7 separate regions of the Homo sapiens genome follow, and regions 1, 2, 4, 5, 6 and 7 are each linked to region 3. Evidence: promoter capture Hi-C in 16 types of primary human blood cells and fetal thymus (Javierre and others, 2016). All regions are on one chromosome and are shown on one strand. The core of a region is centred on a gene start or on the middle of the fragment in contact, and the rest is flanking DNA. Distances in the headings are between cores, read along the strand shown. Region 1 overlaps RASA3 (RAS p21 protein activator 3). Region 2 overlaps CDC16 (cell division cycle 16). Region 3 holds the start of DCUN1D2 (defective in cullin neddylation 1 domain containing 2). Region 4 holds the start of MCF2L (MCF.2 cell line derived transforming sequence like). Region 5 overlaps RASA3 (RAS p21 protein activator 3). Region 6 overlaps CHAMP1 (chromosome alignment maintaining phosphoprotein 1). Region 7 holds the start of UPF3A (UPF3A regulator of nonsense mediated mRNA decay).

The links. Contacts are between HindIII fragments. The CHiCAGO score rates a contact against its expected background, and 5 or more counts as called.
Region 1: a fragment that was not itself captured here is called in contact with the fragment with the promoter of DCUN1D2 in region 3 in 2 of 17 cell types (neutrophils and erythroblasts); the score reaches 5.1 in neutrophils.
Region 2: a contact is called between a fragment that was not itself captured here and the fragment with the promoter of DCUN1D2 in region 3, in 5 of 17 cell types (neutrophils, monocytes, erythroblasts and 2 more). The highest score is 9.0, in neutrophils.
Region 4: a fragment that was not itself captured here is called in contact with the fragment with the promoter of DCUN1D2 in region 3 in 2 of 17 cell types (non-activated CD4 T cells and naive CD8 T cells); the score reaches 6.3 in non-activated CD4 T cells.
Region 5: a fragment that was not itself captured here is called in contact with the fragment with the promoter of DCUN1D2 in region 3 in 1 of 17 cell types (neutrophils); the score reaches 6.2 in neutrophils.
Region 6: a fragment that was not itself captured here is called in contact with the fragment with the promoter of DCUN1D2 in region 3 in 2 of 17 cell types (M2 macrophages and neutrophils); the score reaches 5.3 in M2 macrophages.
Region 7: the fragment with the promoter of UPF3A here is called in contact with the fragment with the promoter of DCUN1D2 in region 3 in 1 of 17 cell types (neutrophils); the score reaches 5.5 in neutrophils.

What each region holds. Positions count from the first base shown.
Region 1 is chr13:114,123,039-114,125,909 of GRCh38, forward strand. The region is part of intron 1 of RASA3 (RAS p21 protein activator 3); the gene reads right to left. It overlaps LOC107987192 (a long non-coding RNA gene), which reads right to left. Exons shown (of 2, transcript XR_001750050.2): 2 at 2,249-2,871. Among named protein-coding and RNA genes, the nearest start is that of RASA3, 8.1 kb to the right of the region's middle. The HindIII fragment of the contact is 282 bases long and covers 1,185-1,466 here.
Region 2 is chr13:114,237,593-114,240,563 of GRCh38, forward strand. CDC16 (cell division cycle 16) reads left to right here. Exons shown (of 18, transcript NM_001078645.3): 4 at 1,398-1,436; 5 at 1,758-1,898. Among named protein-coding and RNA genes, the nearest start is that of CDC16, 4.2 kb to the left of the region's middle. The HindIII fragment of the contact is 5,477 bases long and covers 1-2,971 here.
Region 3 is chr13:113,488,844-113,492,010 of GRCh38, forward strand. It overlaps DCUN1D2 (defective in cullin neddylation 1 domain containing 2), which reads right to left and starts at 1,868. Exons shown (of 7, transcript NM_001014283.2): 1 at 1,824-1,868. The coding sequence starts at 1,826. SLC9D1 (solute carrier family 9 member D1) reads left to right here and starts at 2,178. Exons shown (of 13, transcript NM_017905.6): 1 at 2,178-2,430. RefSeq lists an enhancer at 1,039-1,338 and a silencer at 1,569-2,488. The HindIII fragment of the contact is 2,425 bases long and covers 740-3,164 here.
Region 4 is chr13:112,968,452-112,971,519 of GRCh38, forward strand. It overlaps MCF2L (MCF.2 cell line derived transforming sequence like), which reads left to right and starts at 763. Exons shown (of 30, transcript NM_001112732.3): 1 at 763-1,007. The coding sequence starts at 929. It overlaps MCF2L-AS1 (MCF2L antisense RNA 1), which reads right to left and starts at 187. Exons shown (of 1, transcript NR_034002.1): 1 at 1-187. RefSeq lists an enhancer at 1-437 and a silencer at 639-698. The HindIII fragment of the contact is 521 bases long and covers 1,045-1,565 here.
Region 5 is chr13:114,054,151-114,057,061 of GRCh38, forward strand. The region is part of intron 2 of RASA3 (RAS p21 protein activator 3); the gene reads right to left. Among named protein-coding and RNA genes, the nearest start is that of RASA3-IT1, 54 kb to the right of the region's middle. The HindIII fragment of the contact is 473 bases long and covers 1,286-1,758 here.
Region 6 is chr13:114,323,939-114,326,955 of GRCh38, forward strand. It overlaps CHAMP1 (chromosome alignment maintaining phosphoprotein 1), which reads left to right. Exons shown (of 3, transcript NM_032436.4): 3 at 1-3,017. The coding sequence ends at 2,343. Among named protein-coding and RNA genes, the nearest start is that of LINC01054, 8.5 kb to the right of the region's middle. The HindIII fragment of the contact is 721 bases long and covers 1,253-1,973 here.
Region 7 is chr13:114,279,878-114,282,872 of GRCh38, forward strand. It overlaps UPF3A (UPF3A regulator of nonsense mediated mRNA decay), which reads left to right and starts at 1,724. Exons shown (of 10, transcript NM_023011.4): 1 at 1,724-1,969; 2 at 2,144-2,250; 3 at 2,960-2,995. The coding sequence starts at 1,763. It overlaps LOC105370384 (a long non-coding RNA gene), which reads right to left and starts at 1,192. Exons shown (of 4, transcript XR_007063887.1): 1 at 226-1,192. RefSeq lists enhancers at 952-1,251, 1,705-2,392 and silencers at 1,472-1,741, 1,972-2,151, 2,532-2,741. The HindIII fragment of the contact is 7,060 bases long and covers 885-2,995 here.

The DNA of each region.
Region 1 (2,871 bases), core at 76-2,575, 630 kb after region 3:
CCCTGGACACACCTTCGGTGCGTGCCCGGCATGGAGACGCTCCTGCTGCCGGCATGGCTTTGGGGACAGCACTTTGCTCCTGGAGCCTCAGAGGAGGGGGGCCGGAAACATGTGTCCTGCACAGTCACCACCGGACGCCGAGGTGGCCGCCCCAGCAGGGGCCATGGGCTGAGGCTGGTCCTCAGGCTCCCAGAGCAATGGCTGCTCTGGGGAAGAGAAAACACAGAAGTGACAAGATCAAGGCAAACTAGCTGCTCCAGCACCTCGAGGGTTTGGAACCAAAACAAGAAATCTCCAGAGCTGAAAAGAAGAGTGAAACCTTTTCCTTCAGAAGGAACACAGCTAAAGAGAAGATTTAGGGGTGCACGCAAGGGCCCTCAGGTACTCTGTGCAGCCCCTCAAAGCAGGGAAAAGGCCAGGAATGAAACCTAACGCAGAAATGGGAACTGGCTCCAACGCCACACGAACAGCCAGCCTGGGTCTATCGCGCCCAGTTCAGACCCGGGCTGCAGCTTGGAGACGATGACGTCCAAAAACCAAGCTCCAGGAAGACACAACAACAATCACCCTTAGGCTTTGTCAGGCATCCCAGAGAATCCTCCGTCCTACCCTGGGCACGCCATGCGCACCAGGCAGGGAGGGTGGCTCTCAGCAAGGGGCTGAGGACTCTGGCCCATCCTGGGGCGAGGGAGGCACCCACGGGGTGGGCCATGCGGGGCTGGGAGCCACGGCCCCCATGCAGGTCCTAAGTGGACATCTGTCTGGTCGGTGGTCAGAAAAAGGATCCCCACGGTGTCTAGGAAAGACTCAGACCTCTTACCAACCTCTGGAATTTTATCCTATGGGCAGTCAGGGCCAAGACAGATGATTCTTTACAGGTTGGAAATTATTCGGATAACATAAAAGAAACAATGTAAAGAGGAAAGAACAGGTGCAGGAGTCGTTCCTCGATCAATTCCAGGTCAAGGCACCGGTTTCGGTCCCCAGTGCGGCTCCTGTCTCCTGACCCAGCCCCCCGGCCCAGCCCCCAGAAGCCCGGCACGGTGTCTCTCGGGACCCAGGACACGCAGGTCAGCGCTGCAGCCGTTACTGGCTGTGTTGTGATACCAGCAGGGCACTGACTGTCCCCAGAAGGAACAAAACTGAGACTTAAATTTGGGTGATTGTTCCAAATGTGGGATTCAAGCTTATTTGAAAACGAAAACTAAGAATGCCAAATTTCAGGGTGGCTAGAGCTACAGCCCCAGGAATCCAGCCCTGTCTGCAGAAACACACCTAATATTTTCAGACACTCATAGAACAAGGAACTACTATTTTTGAGAAAATACTCACAGAAAAACAAAATCTCCCAGACACTCTGATGCCGTTTGACCAATAACCCATGGGGAAACTCACTTCCGGGGATCCAGGCCCGACGAGGGCGTTCCCGGGCACCTCGGTGACTCTGAAACTCATATCTACAGCAAAGCTTGAACGTTTGTAACTGTTCACTTTGGACTCTGCGTCACACCCAGAGAGACCCTGAACCATCTGTCACAGGTGACGTAACCCTCAGTTCCCCTTCACCTGTGCCAGAGCCTCCCAGACACAAAGGCTGGAGCCCCAAAACCTGTCAGGGGCCTCTCAGGGGCCAGCCACAACTCACTCCGCCTGTCACTGCTGGACGCCCGCTGCGGCCTGACGGAGCCGCTCCTTCACCTGTCCACATGCATTTCCCACACAGCACATTGTCTTGAATGAAGGCAAGTTATTTTCTTTCTCGGCCTTGGCGTCCTCCACAGCCGACACTGTTCTTGCAATCTGTGAAGGGATGATTTCTAAGCTCCGCCTTTGTTCTTCACTCACTCACCCACCGTATACATAGTTGCACATTGATGCATAATAGACATATACTTGCTGCTACGGAAGGCCTTGTATTCCTGTCTCTCTTCCTACCACAGCACTCCTGCCATCCCACAGGTAATCCAATTAGCAGGCTGTGTGGGTCTTATCCCTGATCTGCGCACACTCATCTGATCTGTGTTTATCATTCTTCTAGGGGGTGGTGTTGGGCGCTCTCATTTTGCTTCTTTTGAATCTTATGCCGTGGAACTTCCTGCGAGTCATGTGGTTTGGCCTGGGCTTAATATGTTCCTTGAAAGCCACAGAGCAGCCCACATGTGGATGCACATGACATAATCACCGTTTCAGTTGGCGATTACTCATTGGGCTGTTCTTGCATTGCTATAAAGAAACACCTGAGACTGGGTAATTCAAAATAAACGAGGTTTATTGGTCACGGTGCTGCAAGCCGTACAGGAAGTATGGAGGCATCTGCTTCTGGGGAGGCCTCGGGAAGCTTCCAGTCATGGCAGAAGGTGAAGGGGGAGCAGGTGTCTCACACGGCGAGAGCGGGGGCAAGAGCGCGAGGTGGGAGGTGTGCCACCGGATCTCACGAGAACTCACTCACTATCGTGAGAACAGCACCAAGGGGATAGCGCTGAGCTGTTCATATAAATCCACCCTCAAGATCCAGTCGCTTCCCACCAGGCCCCACTTCCAACGACGGGGTGACAGTTCGACAGGAGATTGGTGGGGAGACCCCAACTCCTCAACATTGCTTCTACTGTTTGCTATTTGCTCACTCAGCCACTGGCCACAGGTGCTGCTGCAGTAGACACGTCTGTTCATCGCCTTCACCTATGGTTCAAAGCTAGAAGCTCTGGTTGCACGGCAAGCCCCTCCTTTCCTGCGTGAACACAGACCCCTGCTCTGACCCGCGGCTGCGTAAGACGAGACGCGCTCAGTGAGCTGCCTCCCCGACCCCCACCACAGTTCCACAACGGCTGTCCAACCTCGCACCCTCCAGAGGTACCGGCACCTGCTGCCCAA
Region 2 (2,971 bases), core at 58-2,557, 750 kb after region 3:
AGTTTTTTTTTAGTGAAAGTGAAGGGAAAATGTCTTATACCTAATCTGTCACCTTCTTTTTCCCCCATCTCCCATCTAGTCTCTAAATTCTGAAGACTGTTTTCTAAACAGCTCTGGAATCATGGATATTCCTCTTCCTCCCCACTCGTACGTGTCAGGCCTTTGATTTTTTTGTCTGTTCTGTTACAGCCTCTCTTCTTGTCTCTTTTCCCCAGTAACAGTTTCTCTCTTCTTATCTTCCCTGTCACAAGTTCATCTTGTGAACTATTACAGGAGTGAGTAGTCTTTAAAACACGGATGTGGTTATATTCCCACAAAGTCATTCAGTGACTTCCCATTAGCTGCAGGATAAAGTCAGATGCATCAGTAGGTCTGTGAGGCCCTCCTTGTTTTCTCTCCACTCTGCGTCTAATCCACCACCATCAATACCTGGAGCACGTGCTCCAGTCACGTGGTGCTGCTGTGAGCTCCTTGGACACCCAGCAGTTATTCACACTCAGGGCCTGAAGTGGAGCTGCTGCGATCTCCTTGGACGCCCAGCAGTTATTCACACTCAGTGCCTGAAGTGGAGCTGCTGTGAGCTCCTCGGACGCCCAGCAGTTATTCACACTGAGGGCCTGAAGTGGAGCTGCTGCGATCTCCTCGGACGCCCAGCAGTTATTCACACTCAGTGCCTGAAGTGGAGCTGCTGTGAGCTCCTCGGACGCCCAGCAGTTATTCACACTCAGGGCCTGAAGTGGAGCTGCTGCGATCTCCTCGGATGCCCAGCAGTTATTCACACTCAGTGCCTGAAGTGGAGCTGCTGCGAGCTCCTCGGACGCCCAGCAGTTATTCACACTCAGGGCCTGAAGTGGAGCTGCTGCGAGCTCCTCGGACGCCCAGCAGTTATTCACACTCAGGGCCTGAAGTGGAGCTGCTGCGATCTCCTCGGACGCCCAGCAGTTATTCACACTCAGTGCCTGAAGTGGAGCTGCTGCGATCTCCTTGGACCCCCAGCAGTTATTCACACTCAGTGCTTGAAGAGCTACCCAGTGCTCCACTCCTCTGCCTGACCACTTACTCGCTGCCTCACTTACTCGCTCTCCTGCAGATGTTTACTTCTCCACCTGGTTGATGCTTTCTGTTGCCCCGTTTCGTCATGCTTACCTGTTGTGCTTAGTTCACATCTCCCCTACTGTAACCTCCTGGGGCAGGGCCTTACTGCTTTTGAATCCTTGGTGCCTAGTAAACAGTAGGTTCATAATAAATATGGTTTAACAGGACTGGATTTTTTTTTTAACTGCAAGAGTAAAAGGAGAAATTATGAAATTAGTTCTATTTTATGCTTATGGCTTTCTTTGAAAGTGAAGATACATATTATTTTGACCACTACTTAAACAAATTAATTTCTTTCCTAGTTGTATGAAGCATGTCGTTACCTTGCAGCTAGGTGCCATGTAAGTATGCTCATAATTTCATTTTTATTTGGTTGAATAAAATGAGTGTTATGCATCTCTTAAATATGTGTGAGAATTTTAGTGATGGAGCTTAGCAGGTTAGTAAAGTATTTCATGAGGAAGTGTTCCTTTCCTTAGTCATGTTTGCTATAAAATACTGATTCTTCGTTTACCACATGCTGACATGCATGAAGAAAATTCTACTTTAGACATTTCACATTTAAATAATGGGCATAGTATATGTTATCCTTTAAAAATTCGGATCATGTGTTTCGTGTTAGAAGTCGTGAGTGATGAGCGGCACTTCTGTTTTCCACGTAGTATGCTGCAAAAGAGCACCAGCAGGCCCTTGATGTTCTTGACATGGAAGAGCCCATCAATAAAAGATTATTTGAAAAATACTTGAAGGACGAAAGTGGCTTCAAAGATCCTTCCAGCGACTGGGAAATGTCACAGTCTTCAGTAAGTAGTACTGTGAGCACAGCTCAGTAACGGCGGCGAGAATTGCCCTCATTACGTGGCAGAAACACATTATCTTCTTTTACTTATTACTATATTAAAACAATTGTGGTTGCCAATTTATTTAATTTGCCCACCAAAACCAAAAAAGATTCTGAGACATTTCTGAGCCCTTAGTTGCAAGCTGTAATTGTATCCGCAGATGCCTGCATCCAAAATAGGCTGGCTTGAAACTTCCTTCTCATATTTGATGCCTTAAGCTACTCCCTAAAAGTGGAATAATTTTTCTTCTCCTTTCTGTGTTTCAGCAGTGTTTTGGACCTACACCAAGAAACTTTGATTAGCGTACATTGTTTCTTTCCAGGAAATGGTTTTGTGTTCTGTTTGCTTCAAAGTACATTGCTATGTAATTGTGTATATTTCAGTTTGTATACTTCATATCTCCATGAAATTGCACATTCCTTGCTGGCAGACATCATATAGTAACTTATTAAGTGACATTTACAGATCACTAATCTGGATTTAAAAAAAAAAATAAAAACTTATTGAGGTATAATTTATATGCCATGCAGTTCCCCCATTTAAACTGTATGGTTTGATTCCTTTTAGTGTATTCACAGAGCTTTGCAAACCTCACCATGGTCAATTTTAGAATATTTTTATTATTCAGAAAGAATCCCTGTAAGCCTTACCTGACCTACCAATTTCTCTTTCTTCCCACATCTTTTTTTTTTAAATTAAGACAGGGTCTTTGCTTTGTTGTCCAGGCTGGAGTGCAGTGGCACAATCACAGCTCACTGCAGCCTCAACCTCCCAAGCTCAAGTGATTCTCCCACCTCAGCCTCCCGAGTAGCTGGGACTACAGGCGCCCGCCACCATGCCCGGCTAATTTTTTGCTATTTTAGTAGAGACGGGGTTTCACCATGTTAGCCAGGATGGTCTCGATCTCCTGACCTCGTGGTTTGCCCACCTCGGCCTCCCAAAGTGCTGGGATTACAGGTGTGAGCCACTGTGCCCGGCACAGTTGGCTAAATTTTTTAAAAAATGTTTTGTAGAGACAGGGTCTCACTGTGTTG
Region 3 (3,167 bases), core at 618-3,117:
TGTGTACATGGGGTGGGGGGAAGGCATTTTCTAGGTTTCATTATTTCTGTTAAAATGTACACAATTCTTGAAATAAAAATCTGGACAATCCAGTGGAAACAGCAAATAAAATCTCTAAACTATAAAAAAGTCTCAAACACTTTAATTGTGACCTTGTGAAATACGACTCATATAATCTGGCACCAAGGATACCCATATGTAAAATGGAAAGAAATTACTCTTAAAATGTCCTTAGGGTCAACTTACCCGGGGCTGGCGGGCCAATCATGTTGATCGAATAAACTACGTAAGTTTATGGATCACTTTCACTCTGTTTCGGTATACAGCACGCTAGAGGGAGGGGGAGTTAAATTCATCCCTGCTCTTGGATCTCCAACCTCGGCAGCAGTGGAACGCTCCTCTCCAGCATCCTGAACATGTTCAAGTTTTCCCCAAACTAAGTTCCTGTCCACTCTGCCCCTGTCCTCCTAAAAGCTGGAGCAAGCTATCTCTACCTGCCCAGGTGTGCATCCTAACTCAGGCTACCTGGCTCCAGCCCGGCCTCCGCAGTGACCCCTAAAGGTCACAAAAGCTCGGCTGCTGCGGTCAGTGGGATCTTTTCAGCTGCTCTTTTGTTCAGCACTGCTGATGGCTCCCTCCTCCTTTAAACTCCATCCTCTTGGTTTCGACACATTCTAGTGTCCTGGTTTCTCCTACCAGCCCCCTCTCAGTCTCCTTTGTGGCTCTTCTCCCATCCTGAAGCTTGTCCTCACCCTCCACTCCCCTCTACACGTTACCGTGTCCCTTCTCCGGTGGCTCTCTGTGCCTTAGCCAGGACAATCTTTCAGCTCCTATACGTCATCATCGCCTACCACTAAGGGTCTGTGCATTCTGTTTCTTCTGCCTGGAGCCGCACACGGCTGGCTGCCCCGGAACCTCACTTTTTCTCTGGCTAATTTCCAGAGAAATTCTCCACAGTTCAACTCACACCCTCAGCATCTGACACCACTCCCACAGCCGCATCCTACAAGTTCCTGGAACCCGTGCCTTAGCCTTTGTCCCAACTGTGGTCAAACAATTGTGCATCTGGTGCCTGTCTCCCCTGCTGGGGCATCAACTCCCTCAACGCCAAGATCATGCCTGGCCCAGCACCAGTCACACCCAGCAGCACCTTGCTGGCCTCTGAACCGATGTGGACTGAATAAATCCCATCCATCACCATTTCCACCACATTTCAAAGTAACTGATGTGCACCTCCAGCAGCCTCCCTCCTGCGCTGCGGAACTCTACCAGCTCCACAGATGCACACCTACAGCCACGCTACAGCTCCCGGCTAGAGCCCGCGCTAGGGCCCCGCTGTGCCTCTCCCTCCCCTCCCGGCAGCAGGGCCTCCCCCGCGAATCTGAGCTTCTCGCGGATTCCTTCCTTGCGCTGTTTTGGTCAACAGCCTCAGCATCTGCACAGACGCCCGCAGGAGCAGCCGAGCCCTCGCCCGCCTCGACTGCCCGTTTCGAAGCCGCCCTGGGAAGCCCCCGGCCTGGGTTCCCGCTCGGCCCCGGCCCCTGCCCCAAGGCCCCTACAGTTCCTCCCGGCCCCCGCCCTCCGCTCACTCCCGGTCGTCCCTCGCGGCTCCGGGTCAAACCCGCGCTCCCCGCGGTCCCGCGCCTCCGACGCCACCGCTCCGGCTCGCGGGCCCGCGGCGCGTTCCTCCCTCGGATCCACGCGGAACGCCCCGCGCAGCTCGCTGGGCTCGGCCTCCCACATCCAGCGCGCCGCCTGCGCCGACCTTGGGGCCCGACCCCGACCCCGACCCCGACGGGCAGAGGCGACGCCGGGCCACCTACCATCTCCCCCGCGCCGCCCGCTTCTGGCCGGCCCCGGCCTTCTGCGCAGGCGCGGCGGCGGCTCCGCCCTCGTCCTCGGACGGCCGCGGCCCTCGGCTCCGGGGCAGTGCCGGGAGCCGGCCGCGGGGACTCCCACTCCCGGCATGCTCAGCGCCGCCCGGGGGCCCACGGGAGCTCGCGCCCCACAGCCCCTGCGCGTCCAGCCCTCTGCGAGGGCCTTGGCTCGCCCCTGCGGGGTCCAACGCCAGCCTGCGGCTGCCAGGCCCCACGCCGGCCAGGAAGTGCTCGCCGCCCGCGGCCGACGGGACCCGCCCACGCCCCGCCTCTTAAAGGGGGCAGTGACTGCGGCTGGGCGGGAGTCCGGGTCGGCTTGGCTGAGCGGGGGCGGTGCTGGGCAGGGCGGCGGCCGCTCCCTCCCGGACTCCCGGCCTCCCGGCCTCCCTGGTCCCGCCTGGGAAGGGATGCAAGGAAGCCCTCCGGCGCTGCGCTCCGAGGCGGGAGACAGCGTCCCCCTCCGCCCCTCGGGTCCTGGCGCCTCAGAGCCCGGCCCAGGCCGCGGAACGGTGATGCTCGGGCCGGACGGGCGGGCGCGGATCCCTGCGTCCCGGTGAGCACCAGGCCCGTCCATCCGGGGCTCTTTCCCGGGGTCCCCTTCCTTCCCTCCCTCCCTGGGGCTCCCCTCCCCTCTCTCCCTCCCCGGGGCTCACCTTCCCTTCTTCCCTTCCCAAGGGTCCCCTTCCTTCCTTCCCTCCCTCCCTGGGGCTCCCCTCTCTCCCTCCCCGGGGCTCCCATTCCCTTCTTCCCTTCCCAGGGGTCCCCTTCCTTCCTTCCCTCCCTCCCTGGGGCTCCCCTCCTCTCTCTCCCTCCCTGGGGCTCACCTCCCCTCTCTCTCTCCTCGGGGCTCCCCTTTTCTTGCAGGTATTGTCTCCCGGGGTCGGGTGGTCTGTGTGGCCTGGGGTCCCGCTCCTCCAGGCCTTGCCTAGGCGCTCTTCGCTGAGGCCCACGTTCTAACCTGGAATGGAACCTGCGTTCCCACCCTGGCCGCCCGGGTGGACTCGGGGCCTCCAGGGCCGGCCGCAGAGATGCAGCCCTGTCCCTGGCCCCCCTCCTGTGACTCCTAACGGCTCCTCACGGTGTCCATGACCCAGGGTGTGGACGCCTGCGCGGGGGAAGCAAGACCGCTGCGTATCGGGTCCCTATTCACTGCCTGTTTTTCTGATTATTCTGTCTTCCAAATTTATCTTATTTACCGGCTTTTTCAAAAGGAGTGTCTTAATGATTGGATTACTTGTGAAATATTTGTAGTTTTTTTCTCCTACAGGCTTGACTTAAATATTCTAAAGC
Region 4 (3,068 bases), core at 55-2,554, 520 kb before region 3:
CTTGGTGCCAACCATGGCGAGGGTGGAGAGCCCCGTGCCTGCAGCGCGCGCTTCCCTCACTGGGTCCTGCGTCCTTGGGCAGGCGATGCCCCTGCGGGGAGGGGCTGGTCCATCCCCGGCCAGCCACGGACCCACGCATGGACCCAGCGACCCACGGACCTGCTTACCTGGGCGCGGCGCGGGTGGCATGCGGCCACACGGAAGGGGCGCGCTGGGCTGCTGCGGCCTCTGCAGCTTCTACACCTGCCACGGGGCGGCCGGAGGTAAAGGGAGGCGGCGGCCAGGCGCGGCCCCGCGGAGGCAGCTGCACTCGCTCGGTCCACTCGCGGCTTCGCGGCTGCCCGCAAACCAGGAGGGCGTGGAGACCCGGAACCGGGGGGAAGGGCGGGGGCACTTGTGCGGCACCCGCGGGGCTCCCAGGGGACCTCGGCGGTGACACGAATTTCTAGGTGACCTTGGCGGTGACACGAATTTCTAGGTGACCTGTGTGATACACTAGGTGACCTAGTGACACAGGTGACACTTCCAGGTGACCGCGGCGGTGACCCGCGGGGCTCCCAGGTGACCTCGTTGGTGAGCCCCGGGGCTCCCCGACGACCGCGGCGGTGACACGCGGGGCTCCCAGGTGACCCCGGCGGTGCACTCACAGGACTCCCAGGTGACCCGCGGTGGTGACACACCGGGGCGGGCGCGCGCCGCTTCCGCTTCCGCCGAGCCGCCCCCCGCCCCCCGCGGCGCAGCGCGCGCCCCCCTCCCGGTGGCGCGGAACCAATCCTGGGCAGGGAGGCGGCGGCTGGAGGCTGAAAGCGCTGCCGTGGCCCCCTCCCCGCCTCCGCCGCGCCCCCTCCGCACTCGCACGGCCCCACCCGCAGGCGCCCCCCGTGCGGAGGAAGCGGATCTGCCAGGATCATTTTTGTTGTGTCGGAGGATGAGGTTTTGGCTGAGGACTGAAGAGATGGCCTTGGAAGAAATGGTGCAGAGATTAAATGCGGTTTCCAAGCACACGGGTAGGAGGAGCTGCTGGCCGTCAGTGATCTGTGCTTAAGCTTGACATCATGGGCTGAAATGTGGGGAAATGCGTCTGATTTTTGTAAGCCGCCCTCGTGTTCCTTTCTAGCCGTGGTAGCTGTGACATGGGGGGCACTGGTTGGCAGCTGGTGTGTTTTCAGAGGCTGTCGGCGATCGTATGCTGCCCGGGATAGTCAAAATGACTGCACGTTGGTGACACTGGCTCTCTCAGGGTTGCTGGGTCTGCATGCGGAGCCATTTGTGTGTCTGAAGTCTGCCCATCAACCTGCCTGTCCGCAGCCCTCGCAATGGAGAATGCATTGCGAATGGAGAATGATCTGAGCCAAGGGCTTTCAGAGCTTGGGGTTTCAGAGCCAGGGGTAGGGATGGTGAAGCTACCTGGAAGCTCGTTTTGAGGATGAAAAAACCTGGACTAATCAGGTGGTTCTTTTCTTCATTAAATGCAATTTAAACCTAAGACAGATGTTTGAGACGGTATGGGTAAAGAGTGGACTGGACGTTCATTTTCAGTATTAATCGAAATATTACTTCAAATAAGCTTTGAAGAGTAGTTCAGATCGATTCTTTTAGGTGTAAGCAGAGACTGGGCTGACAGCTTGCATCTGGCCGTGGCTTTCAGGCGGTCGCATCTGAGTTCTCAGGCTGTGTTATGCAGAAGGGAGAGGCATCCTTAACTCGTTTTCCTTGAAATGAAGAGGAAATAATGATATATCATTAAAAGTAAGTTGCCAAGTGTTTTGCCTGATGTTGCCATATGTTATGTCATATATGCCATTACTAGTTGTCTAACTAGTACTTGCCTGGGAGATTAAAATGTCAGTTGCTTGGTTTGGGTGTGGTTCTCTTTCTCTGCCCACCCCGATGGATTCTGAGAGTGAACCAGTGATTAAATCAGCATAAGCACCATCGTATGGGATGGTCTAATCAAGATGTTTTTAATGGGGGCTTTTATGATCAAAGCTGCTGGGTTTATTGTATGTGGGTCGAAAGAAAACAAAACCATTTTCATGCCGTCTGCTCCCTGATTCTTAGAGAATCAGCTCTTTTTCTGAAGCTTGAGTGGAGCTTTTCCGTGCAGGGTTTGCAGGGTTTGAGTATGGTGAAGGGCTGCGTGGATGCCAGGTTCACAGGGAGGCTTCCGATCGGCTGTGGGGGTGGAGGAGAAAGCCCCCCTTGCTCTGCATGCCTCTGCGTGCCGTTCGGTGTCAGAGTCACAGAGTGGGAACCGCTCCAGAGGCTGATGTCATTCCCCAGGTTTTTAGGGATTGGGGTTTCTTCATGAGCTCCAAGAGACATGTGCGCATTTTTAATTGGAAAAAGGCTATCTCAGAAGAGCAGCAGTGACACTGTCTGCTCACTGAATGTCGTGCGAGCCGGGCGCTCGGTGTGGGCCATCGTCTCATCTGGAACAGGCAGTGAGATGTGCGTCCTCCCACACATCTGCATTACCGATAATTGCATGCTTCACCAGGACTTTCAAGTCCAGCTTACCAGATATCCTCGGTTATGAGCACCCTGTAGCGTTTAGTTAGGGGAGGTGACCCTGCATCATACTCCACTTACCACCCATTAACACTGGCCTCTTCCTTCAGCACAAACCCATTTTCTGCTCACGCTGTGTGAGGTACTGCTCAGCGGAGGCAAGTTATTAGGTTGAAGGCTGTAAAACCATCATGAGGGGGTTTATGATGCAGTATTGACATGATGCTACCACAGAGTGTACGGGTATGTGGTGCACATTCTCTGGTAGGGGTGAAGGTCAAGGTAAACCTGATCCCCACCTCGGGTTTAAATTCCAAGCACTTCCTCAGGAGAGTTCCCCACCTGCAGCCAAACACTCTTCAGCGGGAGGTCATGGAGCTGCTTCTCCTTCTGGGGTCATGCTAGGATCCGTGCCAGGTAAAAGCTGATGGCAACAGGACACTGATGTGGCGGCTGGTGTAGGTCCTCAGGGCAGTGGCGGGGCTAGGTCACAGCTGAGGGATTGCGTACAGCGGCTGGCCTTAGAGCAGCTGCCTCATTCAGCTGTGCAGAGCTTC
Region 5 (2,911 bases), core at 272-2,771, 560 kb after region 3:
ATAAAAAGTGAAAAGACAGACTAGAAAAAATATTAGTAAGTCAGTTATCTGATAAAAGACTTATATACAGAATATATAAAGAACTCTTATGACTCAATAAATGATGACAAATAATTCAGTTTAAAAAGGGGCAAAAGATTTGAACACACATATCACCAAAGACAAATGGCCAACAATGTATTAAAAATGCTCCATGTCATTAGCCCTTGAGAAAATGCAAATTAAACCAGGAGATACGGCACAGGCATAAGCCCAAACCTGGGGCGGGCGACTGTTGCTGCCCGGAGCCCAGGTGGGAGGGGCCCAGAGTCCAGGTGGGAGGGGCCCAGAGTCCAGGTGGGAGGGGTCCAGAGTCCAGGCCCCACCCCTTCTCCCTGCAGCGGCCTTAATGACAGGCATTTCATTTGGATTTCACTGATTTCAGTATTTTTATAACTGGGTCAGAGACTGGGTAACATTTACTCAGAAAACCATTTTTTGTCATAAAACAATCTTCCAAGGGAAGCCTAAAATGCCTAGGTTGTTTTAAGCATTTTGGAAACACAGCAGTATCCATTTACACACAAAAGAAACATCACTTTATCTTTCAATGAAGGCAGAATGCTCAGGGACTTCCACCGACTCCATTGTAGCAGCATCCTGGTTAATGAAGGCCCATTAGAAAGTCACGTTTCCTTTAAACACATTCTCGCGTTGGTCGTTGACGCAGCGAGCCATCCTCTGATCTCCTGCGTCTGCGTGGGCACCGCCGAGATCTGATGTCAGGGACCCCCAGGGGTGTGTGTGCCCACAGGCATGTGTGTGTGGGTGTGTGCACGTGTGTGCCCATGGGTGTGTGCACGTGTGTGCCCATGGGTGCGTGTGCCCACAGGCATGTGTGTGGGTGTGTGCATGCATGTGCCTGTACGTGTGTGCCCACAGGCACGTGTTTGTGTGTGCATGTGTGTGCCCGTATGTGTGTCCCCACAGGCAGGTGTGCATGTTCATGTGCATGTGTGTGCCCACAGGCACGTGTGCATGGGTGTGTGCATGCATGTGCCATGCATGTGCCCATACATGTGTGCTCACAGGCATGTGTGCATGTTCATGCGTGCATGCATGTGCCCTGGAGCACTTGGGTGCACATGTACACAAAGGCACCACAGATGCGCCCCACACAATGCGCTGCTTTCATAACAAGGCGCAGGGGTCGTGACCCTGCCTCCACCCTGTGTAAAGTCACAGCTGCAGGATCTCGGGGCAGGACGCACACTCCCCAGGCAGCGCCCTGTGGCCTCCCTGGAGAAGCTTGGTGCTCTGCGGACAGCGTCCCCACTGGCAGGAAAAACCACTATCAACCTCGAAGCCAAAAGGGACACCAGACGTGCATTTTAATATTCACGACAAGGCCTCAGGTGACGAGCTACTCACAGGACAAGCGTTAACAATTAATAGTAATCCACAAAACATTTGGGATTTTTACAACGACAAAACGGCCTCTTCTGTACGTCCTAGAGCAACTTTCAGGGCCACTGAGGCCTAAGTGATGGCAGGAAGCCGTGGTGTTTGAATGTGTGAAAGCAGCCTGGACTTGGCGTTTCCAGCCCCGTTCGCTCCCGGCAGAGCCCCAAGAACCAAGGGCTGGAGGCTTCACTTCCTGCTCCAGAGTGGCAGGTGCCCAGGCTGTCCTGGCTGCGGTGCATCTCACACAAGAAGCCCAGCGGGAGCACGCACAGCTCTGGGCCTTGCGGCAAATGCGTAACCAAAAGGCGTAAATCAAGCTTCGTTCACCATGGAGGAACCTCAGAACCACCGGCACCGATAGCCAAGCTGCCAGAGAATGGAACGGACGCCCTCCATTGGCACAAACTCCAGCAGCCGGCTTGTCAGGAAGCTGCAGCAGCTTCAGAGCAACCCAGGCCTCGGGGTTCACCTGGCGCGTCACCGTTTCCCGAGAGCCCCCCGCCCCCGCACAGGCACTGAGGACCCCACCACATGGGCCTGTGCCTGCCTGGCAGGAAGGCAGGGAGGAGGAAGTGGGTCGGGCTGGATTGCATGTCTGATGTGTGTCCGATGAATGTCCAGTGCGTGTCCAATGCGTGTCTGGTGAGTGGTGAGTGTCTGGTGTGTGTCTGATGTGTGTCTGATGCATATTTGGTGCGTGTCCGGTGCGTGGTGAGGGGCGGTGAGATGAGGATGCCAGCGCTAAGCACACCCCACAAACGGGCGCCGCGCACCTGGCATTTAACCCTGCACACTTCCTCACCACCCTGATGCACAGGGTGGGAAACCGAGGCACTCCAACATCTGATGAAACGAAACTAACCCCAGGGCTTGGGCAGCAGGGCTGAGAGTGCGGCGTCCCTGGGCGCTGCCCGGTAGCGGGGTGTTCAGTTGCTCTGCCAAAGGCTCTGCACAAGTGGCTCCTCTCTCTGTAACTCTGCTTGGCAGTGGGGGGCTCGGTGGGGGGAGGCCCGTGCTGGCTGGGCACCTGGGAGGGTCCCGTGAGGCTTCTGGTGGTGCTGACAGCTGTCCGTGGAAATTGAGGTGCTTAAAATTCATAAATAAACCAGAAATCCATTCAATAAAAAGAGATAAAAATAGCAGAAAGAGGAAGCTACAAGAAAACATACGAACTCCATAAAATTATCACCACAGACTGGACGTGCCCCTTTCTAAATGTAAAAGCGGTTTATAGCAACACAGCATGGCCCTGCTGCACTACCCCTGGGGAGCAAGACCTCCTCCAGCCTCCACCCAGGAATTTCTCCAGCAATGGCTTTAGAACCTTGCTCCTGAATCGCAGCAGGGGAGGCAGCGCTTTGGGGCCCTCTGTCAGGCTGCCCCCCCTGCTAAGAGGAGCTGTTGTCCTTGGGAACCACGGGTCCCCCCTCCTGAAGAAGGGGAACGTCACACTCACAGTTCCATTTTA
Region 6 (3,017 bases), core at 363-2,862, 830 kb after region 3:
ATGGGTACCATCCATCCAGAATTTTGTGATGAAATGGATGCTGGTGGGCTAGGCAAAATGATATTTTACCAGAAAAGTGCAAAGTTATTTCACTGCCATAAATGCTTCTTCACCAGCAAGATGTACTCTAATGTATACTATCACATCACATCCAAACATGCATCCCCAGACAAATGGAATGATAAACCAAAAAATCAGTTGAACAAAGAAACAGATCCTGTGAAAAGCCCTCCTCTTCCTGAACACCAGAAAATACCCTGCAATTCAGCAGAACCAAAATCCATACCTGCCCTTTCAATGGAAACACAGAAACTTGGTTCAGTTTTGTCTCCAGAATCGCCAAAACCTACTCCTCTTACTCCCCTGGAGCCTCAGAAACCTGGCTCTGTTGTTTCTCCTGAGCTACAGACACCTCTTCCTTCTCCTGAGCCTTCAAAACCTGCCTCTGTTTCTTCTCCTGAACCTCCAAAATCAGTCCCTGTTTGTGAGTCTCAGAAACTTGCCCCTGTTCCTTCTCCAGAACCACAGAAACCTGCCCCTGTATCTCCTGAGTCAGTAAAGGCTACTCTTAGTAATCCCAAACCCCAGAAGCAGTCTCATTTCCCGGAAACATTGGGGCCACCTTCAGCCTCATCTCCAGAGTCACCAGTTCTAGCTGCTTCCCCAGAACCTTGGGGACCATCCCCAGCTGCATCTCCAGAATCTCGGAAGTCAGCCCGGACTACCTCCCCTGAGCCAAGGAAGCCATCCCCTTCAGAGTCTCCTGAACCTTGGAAGCCGTTCCCTGCTGTCTCCCCAGAGCCTAGGAGACCAGCCCCCGCTGTGTCACCAGGCTCTTGGAAACCAGGGCCACCTGGGTCCCCTAGGCCTTGGAAATCCAATCCTTCAGCATCATCAGGACCTTGGAAGCCAGCTAAACCTGCTCCATCTGTGTCTCCTGGACCTTGGAAACCAATTCCTTCTGTATCTCCTGGACCTTGGAAACCAACTCCATCTGTGTCTTCTGCATCCTGGAAATCTTCATCAGTCTCACCCAGCTCCTGGAAGTCTCCCCCTGCATCTCCTGAGTCATGGAAGTCTGGCCCACCAGAACTCCGAAAGACAGCTCCCACGTTGTCTCCTGAACATTGGAAGGCAGTTCCCCCAGTGTCTCCAGAGCTTCGCAAACCCGGCCCACCACTATCCCCAGAGATCCGTAGTCCAGCAGGATCTCCAGAGCTCAGAAAACCCTCAGGGTCACCAGATCTTTGGAAGCTTTCTCCTGATCAGCGGAAAACTTCTCCTGCTTCACTTGATTTCCCTGAGTCCCAGAAAAGTTCCCGTGGTGGTTCTCCTGATCTCTGGAAGTCTTCCTTTTTTATTGAGCCTCAGAAACCTGTCTTCCCTGAGACCCGAAAACCAGGTCCTTCTGGGCCATCTGAGTCCCCCAAAGCAGCCTCAGATATCTGGAAGCCTGTTCTCTCTATCGATACTGAGCCTAGAAAACCTGCCCTGTTTCCCGAGCCTGCCAAAACAGCCCCTCCTGCTTCTCCAGAAGCACGCAAACGTGCCCTTTTTCCAGAGCCCCGGAAGCATGCCCTTTTCCCTGAACTCCCCAAATCTGCTCTATTCTCAGAATCACAGAAGGCTGTTGAGCTTGGTGATGAACTACAAATAGATGCCATAGATGATCAAAAATGTGATATTTTGGTTCAGGAAGAACTTCTAGCTTCACCTAAGAAACTCTTAGAAGATACTTTATTTCCTTCCTCAAAGAAGCTCAAGAAAGACAACCAAGAGAGCTCAGACGCTGAGCTTAGTAGTAGTGAGTACATAAAAACAGATTTGGATGCGATGGATATTAAGGGCCAGGAATCAAGCAGTGATCAAGAGCAGGTTGATGTGGAATCCATTGATTTTAGCAAAGAGAACAAAATGGACATGACTAGTCCAGAGCAGTCTAGAAATGTGCTACAGTTTACTGAAGAAAAAGAAGCTTTTATCTCTGAAGAGGAGATTGCAAAATACATGAAGCGTGGAAAAGGAAAGTATTATTGCAAAATTTGTTGCTGTCGTGCTATGAAAAAAGGTGCTGTTTTGCATCATTTGGTTAATAAGCATAATGTTCATAGCCCTTACAAATGCACAATCTGTGGAAAGGCTTTTCTTTTGGAATCTCTCCTTAAAAATCATGTAGCAGCCCATGGGCAAAGTTTACTTAAATGTCCACGTTGTAATTTTGAATCAAATTTCCCAAGAGGTTTTAAGAAACATTTAACTCATTGTCAAAGCCGGCATAATGAAGAGGCAAATAAAAAGCTAATGGAAGCTCTTGAACCGCCACTGGAGGAGCAGCAAATTTGATAACACAGTGTGAATATTTGTTCTACAAAGGTGTTTGTTGGAACCATTCTTTGTAAGTATAGCTTATCAGATAGCATAGTTGGATCAGTAGATGACATGTATGGTGTACCGTGTTTCACTGTCTCAGTTGTGTTACTAAGAATGAGCATTTGATCATTTTTTTCTGGTCTCTGTCTATGTGACTATCTTGTAAGTCAATAAATTTCTGTATAGTCCAGATGGATTAAACTTCTCATTTCTTTTAAATATGTATGAATAATAATACAAGGAAGTAGGCATTCCATTTAATAATCAAGAGCAAGTTGTACTCAAAGCATTCAGTTAAAGTGTATCTGTGTGTGGAACTAATTTCAGACAATAGAAAATATTAGTTGAAATGTTTAAGAATTAGGCATGAAAAATAAATTTGAGAAATTTTGTTTCCTTACATGTATTTTTAAATCATAAGAGTTATTTTCTATCTGATGTAAAATTAGTTTATAAATCTTAATCAGCTTCTAGATGTTTATTAGCTTTTATGTCATGAAATGTTGGAGTCTCAGGGTTGCTGATTTTCTGCTAATGGGAAAAATTGACTAAGTCTTTAAAATAGTTTGCAGCCTTCTCCCACAGGAGACAAGTGAAAGATAAGTGTGATTTTAGATCTTTCTTGTCCATAGTTGTTTTCAGTGGAG
Region 7 (2,995 bases), core at 474-2,973, 790 kb after region 3:
TTACGAAATATACACATCCAGCAAACATGTGAGTCCCTTTAGGGTACAGTGCAGTGAAGGGAGAAGTGGAAATACTCAAGGTTCTGGGGAAGGTCAAATGAAGGGTCCCTCACATTGGCTGAGGCCAACCTGGCTTCAGAGGTGTGCAGAGGCACCAGGCCGAGAACAGGGCTTTGCAGTGGTGAGGGCAAAACATGAACACAAGAAATACCCTAAGTTACTGACCTGGTTGTGCCTGGTGACAGATGGGACCAGCTCTTTTCTCCATTTGGTAATTTTGGAAAATTTGGCAGAGTTAATAAAGAAATCCCCTTGGTGCAAGATTGCTACAATAAGAATCTATTATAGATGGCAGATGTGAAGTTCACAGTCCTTTTTATTATCCTAACCTAGTAACATGACTAGAGGTAAAATTAAATATTGAGTTAGATGATTGTTTAATATTTTAAAACCAGAGGGAAGACATACAAATAGATTGAGAGCAGTTTCTTTCTAAAGATAATCAGAATATATCTCCTATATTTTAAACACTGCAGGAACAGTCAAAATTTTAAAATAAATGGTTTCCACATTTTTTTATCCCCATCTCTCCCCCTGACTATATAGTAAAATATTTTATTTGGCAACCACGTTTTCCTACTTTTAATCACACATCATCAGAGCTTTTCATCAGCCTAACTAGTCTTCCTACTCACTGAGTTGTGACGAAAGCCTGGTCTAGGCACTTTTACCACGGCCATGTTTTTGTTAAGATCCCTGCAGACTGTGAACTATGAAAACCAGCCCCTGGCCCCGCTTGTGGGTGCTGCAGAGCCGCGTGTGAACTGCTCCTAGGAAACCGCGTCTCTGGGCAGGGTGGCTCTCGGGCCGTGGATCCGCCTAAAAGCTTTTCTGCCAGTGACGCCCTTGGTCTCTGGATGTGTTCACGCCTCAGTGATTTTACTCTCTGGTTTCTTGTGTGTGCTTGAGATTCTTGAGAGAAAGCGTGCTGCAGATGAAAAATGCAGCCTACATGAAAAAGAGAAGGGGAAAGCCATTTTAAAATAACTTCCATGTAAGTTACTGTAATCAAAGTGCTGCTGCCTGTGTGTTCATAAAAAAATATGTGCAAGGGCCCGGAGCGGTGGCTCATGCCTGTAATCCCAGCACTTTGGGAGGCCGAGGTGGGCGGATCACTTGAGGTCAGGAGTTACCGAGACCATCCTGGCCAACAAGGTGAAACCCCGTCTCTACTTTAAAAAAACAAAAAAATTAGCCAGGGGTGGTGGCGCGTGCCTGTAGGTCCCAGCCACTCAGGAGGCTGAGGCAGAGGCTGCAGTGAGCCGAGATCGCGCCACTGCACTCCGGTCTGGGCGACAGAGCGAGACTGTCTCCAAAAAAATTAAGAATTCAAATGTGAACCCGGCTTTCATGGCGCCCCGGCCACGGAGAGCCTGGGGGAGTGGGATAAAAACGGTGCTGGGATGGGAGGGCGGCTTGTCCGCGAACTCCTCCCACCACGCCCGGACCAAAGCCGCCGGCGCCCCGCTTCCGGGGCCGCCCTAAACCGCGGCCGCCGCTCCCTGAGGGGCCGCCTGACCCGGCGGAAAGCCAGGCTGTGTGGCCGGAGGTCACCACCCCGACCCCGACTAGTCCCGCAGCGCCTGACCCCTTCGTGGGCGGCCCCGACCGCCGCGGCTCGAGGAGGGGCGGGGCTGGGGCGGCCGAGCTCTCGCGAGGTTTCGTCGGGGGCTGGCGGCTGCGGCTCGGCGGAGAGTGCGGCATGCGCTCGGAAAAGGAGGGGGCCGGAGGCCTTCGGGCGGCCGTTGCCGCGCGGGGCCCGAGCGGGAGGGAGAAGCTGTCGGCCCTAGAAGTGCAGTTCCACCGCGACTCGCAGCAGCAGGAGGCTGAGACGCCGCCAACTTCGTCCTCCGGTTGCGGGGGCGGTGCGGGCAAACCTCGCGAGGAGAAGAGGACGGCCCTGAGCAAGGTGGGGACGGGGGCGGGGCGCGCAAACCTCGCGAGGAGAGGACGGCCCTGAGTGGAGGGAGGGGAGGGAGGGGAGGGAGGGGCGGGGGCCGGGCCTCCCAGCGCGGTACGCGGTGCCTTTTGAGCTCCTTGTCCACGCTCCGCCCCGGTGGGAACGGCCGCGCGCTCCCCGCAGGTGGTCATCCGCCGCCTGCCTCCGGGCCTCACCAAGGAGCAGCTGGAGGAGCAGCTGCGCCCGCTGCCAGCACACGACTACTTCGAGTTCTTCGCCGCCGACCTGAGGTGAGGCCCGCCCCGAGGGGAGGAAGAGAGGGCGGAACCCAGAGCTCGGCGGCGGTGGCCGTCTCGTTGCCTTACGTTCCTTACCCTGATTTCTCCTATATGGGAGTCGTGTGAGCTTTTTGAATAAATACATTTCAGTAAAACGTGTCCGTTCCGTCAAAGAAAAATACCACCAACAAAGAAACACAGATGTGGTTTACATGAAAAATGCGGATGATTTTCAGACGGCTAACGCTTAGGAAAGCGGGTGCCTTTGAAAGGACCAGCGTTGCCCGCCCGGCGCCTCCCGGGCTTCCCTGCTCGTCCGCGGACGGGGCGCTGCGGGGCCGGGGGGCGCCGGCTCTTCCTGTGGCCTCCACGCTGGTGCCGCAGCCAGTGCGGTTTTAAATACCGGAGAAGGTCCCCAAGTCAGGAGAGTCTCTCGGCGCCACGGGTTCCTCTGGGAGTGCGCCCTGGCCTTGCCTTAGGGTTTCAGCCTCGGAGGACCGGTTCTGGGCAGTGGAGAAGGGACCTGAGTTCTGCCTTGTAAAGTTAACGTTTTGCGTTTGTTTTTGCTAAAGAATATCCAAGTTGTTACAATTAACTGAGATGATTTGGCACAAAAGTTTTATCTAAAGTAGTTTGTTGTGCCCAGAAAAGGAAAAAGAGGCTAAATTAATGGACTATTGTATTTTTCACTGACCATTTTCACTGTTATCTCTTATTTCAGTCTTTATCCTCATCTCTACTCAAGAGCATACATTAA